Linked DNA regions of Homo sapiens: all the other regions are linked to region 1. The links are contacts of gene promoters, found by promoter capture Hi-C in blood cells and fetal thymus (Javierre and others, 2016). All regions are on one chromosome and are shown on one strand. The core of a region is centred on a gene start or on the middle of the fragment in contact, and the rest is flanking DNA. Distances in the headings are between cores, read along the strand shown.

Evidence for each region. The method cuts DNA at HindIII sites, captures the fragments that hold promoters and counts their contacts. A CHiCAGO score of 5 or more calls a contact.
Region 2: a contact is called between a fragment that was not itself captured here and the fragment with the promoter of FOS in region 1, in 17 of 17 cell types (monocytes, M2 macrophages, naive B cells and 14 more). The highest score is 42.2, in monocytes.
Region 3: a contact is called between a fragment that was not itself captured here and the fragment with the promoter of FOS in region 1, in 1 of 17 cell types (monocytes). The highest score is 7.4, in monocytes.

What each region holds. Positions count from the first base shown.
Region 1 is chr14:75,277,397-75,280,096 of GRCh38, forward strand. FOS (Fos proto-oncogene, AP-1 transcription factor subunit) reads left to right here and starts at 1,432. Exons shown (of 4, transcript NM_005252.4): 1 at 1,432-1,727; 2 at 2,481-2,700. The coding sequence starts at 1,587. RefSeq lists silencers at 1-105, 834-923, 1,274-1,333 and enhancers at 1,422-2,349, 1,704-1,763, 2,350-2,700. The HindIII fragment of the contact is 6,704 bases long and covers 1-2,700 here.
Region 2 is chr14:75,182,184-75,184,883 of GRCh38, forward strand. No RefSeq gene overlaps it. Among named protein-coding and RNA genes, the nearest start is that of TMED10, 6.9 kb to the left of the region's middle. The HindIII fragment of the contact is 3,996 bases long and covers 1-2,700 here.
Region 3 is chr14:75,400,067-75,402,766 of GRCh38, forward strand. No RefSeq gene overlaps it. Among named protein-coding and RNA genes, the nearest start is that of JDP2-AS1, 26 kb to the right of the region's middle. The HindIII fragment of the contact is 1,128 bases long and covers 736-1,863 here.

The sequences.
Region 1 (2,700 bases), core at 182-2,681:
CCGGGCCCGAAGAGTGGAGAAGGGAAGACCGGGGCTGTGCGGGGACATGCGTCTTCGCGCCCTGGAGGTGGCCAGCGCGCTGGGGCTGAGCCCCGGCAGCGTGACCCCGGCTGTCCTACGCAGCAGGGCAGGAGATTGGGGGGCGTGGCACACTCTGGAGCACCTTGCCTCCCCAAAGCCCCGTGTTCCAGGACGTGGAGCCGCTCCTGGGGTCCCAGCAGTCGAGGTATTCCGCCCAGGCGCAGCTGGACACTGTCCTTCCAGCCCCCGTCCTCCACCCTCCAAGTCCGCGCTGGAAAATCACCCGCTGCGGGCTCCCGTAAGCACAGCTTCCTGGCGGGACCGAACCAGCCCTCAGCGCAGATTTGAGTTCCCCGCAGGAAGCACACCCCGCCTTGTCATCCCGAACTGACCACCCTGCCCACATAACCACACCTCGCACTCCCTACCCCTGGGGCCCAGCTCAGAACCGGGCAGACACCCCCTTCAAATGTCTTCGCACGTAGGTTTTGCACAGTGTTTATCTGCTGGTGTCTCAGGGATTTGACAGTTTCCTTAATATTCCCACACATGGCCGAGAAAAATAAATAAATAAATGCGCTGTCTTCTTTAAAAAAATAAATAAATAAAGTACCCAGTATCGTAAAGTAGGTTATCGTATTCTCTTATTTTGGATCCTCCACTTTCTGCTTCCAAACGCAGGAACAGTGCTAGTATTGCTCGAGCCCGAGGGCTGGAGGTTAGGGGATGAAGGTCTGCTTCCACGCTTTGCACTGAATTAGGGCTAGAATTGGGGATGGGGGTAGGGGCGCATTCCTTCGGGAGCCGAGGCTTAAGTCCTCGGGGTCCTGTACTCGATGCCGTTTCTCCTATCTCTGAGCCTCAGAACTGTCTTCAGTTTCCGTACAAGGGTAAAAAGGCGCTCTCTGCCCCATCCCCCCCGACCTCGGGAACAAGGGTCCGCATTGAACCAGGTGCGAATGTTCTCTCTCATTCTGCGCCGTTCCCGCCTCCCCTCCCCCAGCCGCGGCCCCCGCCTCCCCCCGCACTGCACCCTCGGTGTTGGCTGCAGCCCGCGAGCAGTTCCCGTCAATCCCTCCCCCCTTACACAGGATGTCCATATTAGGACATCTGCGTCAGCAGGTTTCCACGGCCTTTCCCTGTAGCCCTGGGGGGAGCCATCCCCGAAACCCCTCATCTTGGGGGGCCCACGAGACCTCTGAGACAGGAACTGCGAAATGCTCACGAGATTAGGACACGCGCCAAGGCGGGGGCAGGGAGCTGCGAGCGCTGGGGACGCAGCCGGGCGGCCGCAGAAGCGCCCAGGCCCGCGCGCCACCCCTCTGGCGCCACCGTGGTTGAGCCCGTGACGTTTACACTCATTCATAAAACGCTTGTTATAAAAGCAGTGGCTGCGGCGCCTCGTACTCCAACCGCATCTGCAGCGAGCATCTGAGAAGCCAAGACTGAGCCGGCGGCCGCGGCGCAGCGAACGAGCAGTGACCGTGCTCCTACCCAGCTCTGCTCCACAGCGCCCACCTGTCTCCGCCCCTCGGCCCCTCGCCCGGCTTTGCCTAACCGCCACGATGATGTTCTCGGGCTTCAACGCAGACTACGAGGCGTCATCCTCCCGCTGCAGCAGCGCGTCCCCGGCCGGGGATAGCCTCTCTTACTACCACTCACCCGCAGACTCCTTCTCCAGCATGGGCTCGCCTGTCAACGCGCAGGTAAGGCTGGCTTCCCGTCGCCGCGGGGCCGGGGGCTTGGGGTCGCGGAGGAGGAGACACCGGGCGGGACGCTCCAGTAGATGAGTAGGGGGCTCCCTTGTGCCTGGAGGGAGGCTGCCGTGGCCGGAGCGGTGCCGGCTCGGGGGCTCGGGACTTGCTCTGAGCGCACGCACGCTTGCCATAGTAAGAATTGGTTCCCCCTTCGGGAGGCAGGTTCGTTCTGAGCAACCTCTGGTCTGCACTCCAGGACGGATCTCTGACATTAGCTGGAGCAGACGTGTCCCAAGCACAAACTCGCTAACTAGAGCCTGGCTTCTCCGGGGAGGTGGCAGAAAGCGGCAATCCCCCCTCCCCCGGCAGCCTGGAGCACGGAGGAGGGATGAGGGAGGAGGGTGCAGCGGGCGGGTGTGTAAGGCAGTTTCATTGATAAAAAGCGAGTTCATTCTGGAGACTCCGGAGCGGCGCCTGCGTCAGCGCAGACGTCAGGGATATTTATAACAAACCCCCTTTCAAGCAAGTGATGCTGAAGGGATAACGGGAACGCAGCGGCAGGATGGAAGAGACAGGCACTGCGCTGCGGAATGCCTGGGAGGAAAAGGGGGAGACCTTTCATCCAGGATGAGGGACATTTAAGATGAAATGTCCGTGGCAGGATCGTTTCTCTTCACTGCTGCATGCGGCACTGGGAACTCGCCCCACCTGTGTCCGGAACCTGCTCGCTCACGTCGGCTTTCCCCTTCTGTTTTGTTCTAGGACTTCTGCACGGACCTGGCCGTCTCCAGTGCCAACTTCATTCCCACGGTCACTGCCATCTCGACCAGTCCGGACCTGCAGTGGCTGGTGCAGCCCGCCCTCGTCTCCTCCGTGGCCCCATCGCAGACCAGAGCCCCTCACCCTTTCGGAGTCCCCGCCCCCTCCGCTGGGGCTTACTCCAGGGCTGGCGTTGTGAAGACCATGACAGGAGGCCGAGCGC
Region 2 (2,700 bases), core at 172-2,671, 95 kb before region 1:
ATTTCTAGTGGAGACAGGGTTACTCCATGTTGGTCAGGCTGGTCTCGAATTCCTGACCTCAGGTGATCTGCCCACCTCGGCCTCCCAAAGTGCAGGGATCACAGGTGTGAGCCACCGCGCCCAGCCTTAGATTTTTTATTTTTTCTGAGATGGAATCGTGCTCTGTCCTCCAGGCTGTAGTGCAGTGGCGCAATCTCGGCTCGTTGCAACCTTTGCCTCTCAGATTCAAGCAATTCTCCTGTCTCAGCCTCCCGAGTAACTGGGACTTGGGACTGCAGGAGCACGACACCAAGCCCAGCTAATTTTTGTATTTTTAGTAGAGATGGTGTTTCACCATATTGGTCAGGCTGGTCTCGAACTCCTGACCTCAGGTGATCCACCCTTCTTGGCCTCCTAAAGTGCTAGGATTACAGGCATGAGCCACCATCCCCAGCCCAATCCCATGACTTTAAATGTGTCTGTAGACTGATAATTCCCAAACATGGATCTCCTGACCTCTCTCATAAGCTCCAGAGTCTATATCGAGCTCCCTACTTGACATCTCCACTTGAAGGACTAATAGGCAATTCATACTTAACTCTTGATTTCCCTTCTCCCCTCTTCCCCCACCCCGCTCCCAAATCTACTTCTTCCGCATCTCAGTAAATGGCACCACCTTCTGCCTAGTCAATGACACCATTCTTGTTTCCTCTTTAACTAACCTTCTCCCCAGACAGAGTCAGTTCATCAAGTCCCGTCAGTTCTGGATTGGGTCCTAAAATGTATGCTGGTCAGTTTCTACTTCTCTATAAGCTAGGGGTCCATAAACTGCTGCCTAGCTAGGCAGGCCAAATCTGGCATGCAACCTCCTGTTTTTCTATTGTGCAAGAGCTAAGAATGGCTTTTACATTTTTTGAGGGCTGTTAAAAAAAAAAAAGGAGGAGGAGAAAGAAGAGAAGAATGTGCAATAGAGAGCTCAAGTGACCTGCAAGCCTGAAATATTTGCTATCTGACCTTTTACAGAAAAATTTATTTCTGTCAGTTAAGCAAACAAGACAACAGCCTCCTTAATGGTTATCTCTGCTTTTATTATTGCCTGACAATAATCGTACTCATTAACATACCCAGAATGATTTTTTTTTCTTTTTTTCTCTGATTTTTTTTTTTTTTTAAGTAAAGCAGATCAACTAGATTAAAATCCAAACACCCAGCCACAGCCTGAAGGCTGAGGCCACTGTGTTCTGGCTCATGCCTGCCTCTCTGTGATTATCCTACCCATTAATGTCTTACCTGGCCTTCCAAACAGTTTAAGCCCCTACCTGCATCAGAGCCTTGGACCTTGCTGCCTACCTGGAGCTCTCCTCAGCTGTTGTCTCATATACTCTGCTGACTGCTTCTCATCATTTGGGTCCCAACTGAATGTCACCACCCCACATAAGTATCCCCCCCCTTGGGTTACTTTCTACCACATTATCTGGTTTTATTATCTTTATTTTTCTCTCTTTTTTTTTCTTTTTTTTGAGATGGAGGTCTCCCTCTGTTGCCCAAGCTAGAGTGCAGTGGCATGATCTCGGCTCTCTGCAACCTCCGCCTCCTGGGTTCAAACGATTCTCATGCCACAGCCTCCCAAGTAGCTGGGACTACAGGCACTTGCCACTGTGCCTGGATAATTTTTGTATTTTTAGTAGAGATGGGGTTTCACCATGTTGGTCAAGCTGGTCTTGAACTCCTGACCTCAAGTGATCTGCCTGCCTTGGCCTCCCAAAGTGCAGGAATTACAGGTGTGAGCCACCGCGCCCGGCTCTTTTTTTTTTTTTTTTTTTTTTAGGGACAGGGTCTTGCTCTGTAACCCAGGCTGGAGTGCAGCGGCGCCATCATAGCTCAGTGCTGCCTCCATCTCCCTGGCTCAAGCGATTCTCCCACCTCAGCCTCCCCAGTGCTGGGGACTACAGGCACACGCCACCACACCTGGCTAATTTTTTTTTTTTAGTAGAGATGAGGTCTCACTCTGTTTCCCAGGCTTGTCTCAGACTCCTGAGCTCCAGCAATCCTCCAGCCTCTGCCTCCCAAGGTGCTGGGATTATGGGTGTGAGCTACTGCACCCGGCCCTGGTTTTATTATCTACATGGCTCTTGTCACTGTTTGAAAGTATCTTATATATATATCTTTCTTGTTTATTATCACCCCACCCTACTGGAATTTAAGCTCAGAAGAGCAAGGGCTTTGATTTTTGCCTGATCTTTCCCTGAGATCAGGCACAATATCCTGTCCATAGTTGGTGCTCAACAAATACTTATCGAATAAATGAAATACAACATATTATAAAGCTCCTAGCACGAGATGAACATAGAGCAGTTGCTCCATAAATGCTAGTTCCTCTATGTAGTAGGTACAACATTTTAATTGCCATTTTTTATATGGAGAAGCTGAGGTCTGAAACTGCTTAGTGACTTGCCTCAAGTCATACAATGAGTCAGTGTTAGAGCTGAAAATAGAAATGAGAGCTCCTAACTGCAGACCAATTTTTGTCATTACATTTGATAAAACTTGGTATTTACGATTTAGTTTCCACTCTACTAAGAAGTTTTAAATTCTTGGGCACTCTTTCTCTACTTTCACTCAGAGGCTAGTAAAAGATCCACTAGCCTCTCCCAACTCATTTTGCTTGAAAAAACAAGATTTTTATCAGTCGGGTGTGGTAGTTCATGCCTATAATCCCAG
Region 3 (2,700 bases), core at 50-2,549, 120 kb after region 1:
CAGAAGCCAGACTAACTGGATTAAGAGGGCATGAGGAAGAGGGTGTGTGCTTTAGGAAGAGGCTAAAACTCTTAGCCTGACTACATGAATGGAGAAACTCCCCTTCCCCCTTCTTTTGCCTCTATCACTGTCCCCCTGGGAAATCATGTCCACTGCCAAACCCTGTATTCTCCTCTTCTGCAGATTCATGCCTCTGATTACAATTCTTTATGGGCATGCCTGGTCCTTTGGAGCAGGGACCATGCCTCGTCATCTTCACATCCCCAGGGACTAGCCTGGCACATGGTTGGCACCGGGTCAAGGCTGACTTGGATTGAGTTCTCGCTGAGCTAGGCATGAGCTGCACCCTCCCCCTGCCCCCAGGGCTTAGTCATCTGTTTCATAAGCAGCTTCCAAAAGCTGCAGCCCCAATACCCAGCTTCCTTGTTGTTGGCAGGTGTTGGCAGCCCTGAGTGCCAGAACGCCAGGGAGCCAGCCACTGGGAACATGCTAGGGTGGTGAGCAGGAGCCAACTAATCAGGGCTCATATACATTTACGAGAGGCGTGTGTGTGCTCCCCAGGAGAGCTGTAACGACACTCCCTTTCCAGGAAACACAAACCAGGCCTCTTTCCTTTCTTTTTTCTCACCTGTCCTGTCTTGTGGCCAGAAGCACATTCATTGGCTTTCCATGCTTCTAAAATAAATCAAATTGGGGGCCACACCCTTCCAAGCTACTTTAGGTTTGCTCCGTGGAAGCTTTAACCCCTTATCATCCCACCAGGCCTGAAATGCTTGGGTTCCAATTTACAAAAATATTAACTTTTTATGTCCTTTCAGAAGAAGGATCTCAGTTTTCCTGATGTCTGCTCCCCTGCCCTGGAATTTCTCCCTCTGCTCATAATTCATCCCAAGGATGTTGACTTCTGTGTTTTGGGATGGTCAGGGGCTAAGTGGCATGGAGGGCAAATAGATTAACCTTTTACCAACTTTCCAAAGCCCTTCCTCCTTGTTCTTTTTTGTTTTTGTTTTTTTGAGATGGAGTCTCACTCTGTCACCCAGGCTGGAGTGCAGCAGCATGATCTCATCTCATTGCAACTTCCGCCTCCCAGGTTCAAGTGATTCTCCTGCCTCAGCCTCCTGAGTAGCTGGGACTACAGGCGCATGCCACCACGCCCAGATAATTTCTGTATTTTTAGTAGAGATGGGGTTTTGCCATGTTGGCCAGGCTGGTCTCAAACTCCTGACCTCATGATCCACCCACCTCGGCCTACCAAAGTGCTGAGATTACAGGCGTGAGCCACTGCGCCTGGCCCTTCCTTGTTCTTTTTATCTCGGCCTCCTCTGGGCTTTTGGAAGGCCTCTTCTTTCTCTAACCCCAAGGTTTTCCTCATTACTCCTCCAAGATTTCAAGGTTTTCCTCTTGTCAGTTTCGTTATGGAAACTCCTGGTTCCCCGCTAGCCTGCGCTCCTCAGTAGGGCTCTGAAACTCAGCTCTCATCTGCCCCAGTGTTATGTTGTTTTTTTCCCTGTCGCTATGGCAGGGATTAAGACAGGAGCCAGGGAAGAAGGGCGGGGGGAGGAAAGTGAGCACGGAAAGGCAGAAGAACGATGGGAGAGAGCCTGATTGGAGGGTGTCAGAGCTGAAGGAAACCGACAGAGAAATGGGCTGAGTGTGTCAAGGGAAGGAAGAGGGATTTGTTTTTCGTTGTTCTATTTTGGTTTTGGTTTTATAGTTTGGATTTGTTTCCAGAGATGAAGAGAAATGTACTTAGTGCTGAATCTCCCCCAACATAGAGTCATGGCTAAAGAAATCCCTCTCGCATCGTCAGTAATCCAGGGGCAATCTTTAGATCCCAGATGGAATAGGGAAAACTCTCAAAAAAGCTTCCAGTTATTCTCAATTCACTTTATGGACAAGCCTGCCCAGTCAGTGTGACAAAGTGACCCAGTACCACTCTGAGACCAGGCAAGCCCTGCCCTTTGGAGATCCCTTCCCCGCAGGCCTCCCTTTGTCCCTGGGGCGAGGGGGTCCTCAGGGCTGAGGGTGATGCCCAGACAGAGTCTATGCCCACACCCACCCCTTCCAGCCCATGCTCCATACTCAGGACCCCAGAATCTCTGCCCGAATGGCCCAAGCCCACTTCCAGGTTCTGGGTGGGCCTGTTTCCATGGTCCACCCTCTCAAGGTAGCCTGTGCAGCCAGTGGCCAAGGGATAGCTGCTTGGGACTGGGCAGTGGGCAGAACCCGGAGGTGCAGGCTGGTGTCAAGCATGTGCACTTGAGAAGGGGCCCTGGCTGAGGGTTGGAACAAACGGCAGGCAGGCCCTGAGCGGGGCTGCCTTTCCTTCTGCTGCTGCATTCTGGTCTGAAGAGTCTGAGGATTCTAAAGTCATACCTGGCCTTCCAGAATGTTATGGAGGTTCATTTGTGAAGACAGGAGAAGAAGACAGGTTTTATTGAATAATTTCTTATCTTGACTTATAGCTTTTAAATATTTAGATACATGGTATGTGAATTGTTGTTTGAATTCTTGCCCTGGTCCCACAAACCTGTGATAAAATGAAGATTTGCGTGATGGAAACGACTCTATTTCCAAATCTCTTCTGCTCCATGTTCCAGTCTTTCTCTGCCAAATGCCTTCATTTGAATGCTCTCATCCTGTGTGAGTCTGTAAATCAGCCTACCACTGAGTAGAAGAAATGGTAGTGGCCATTTTGTG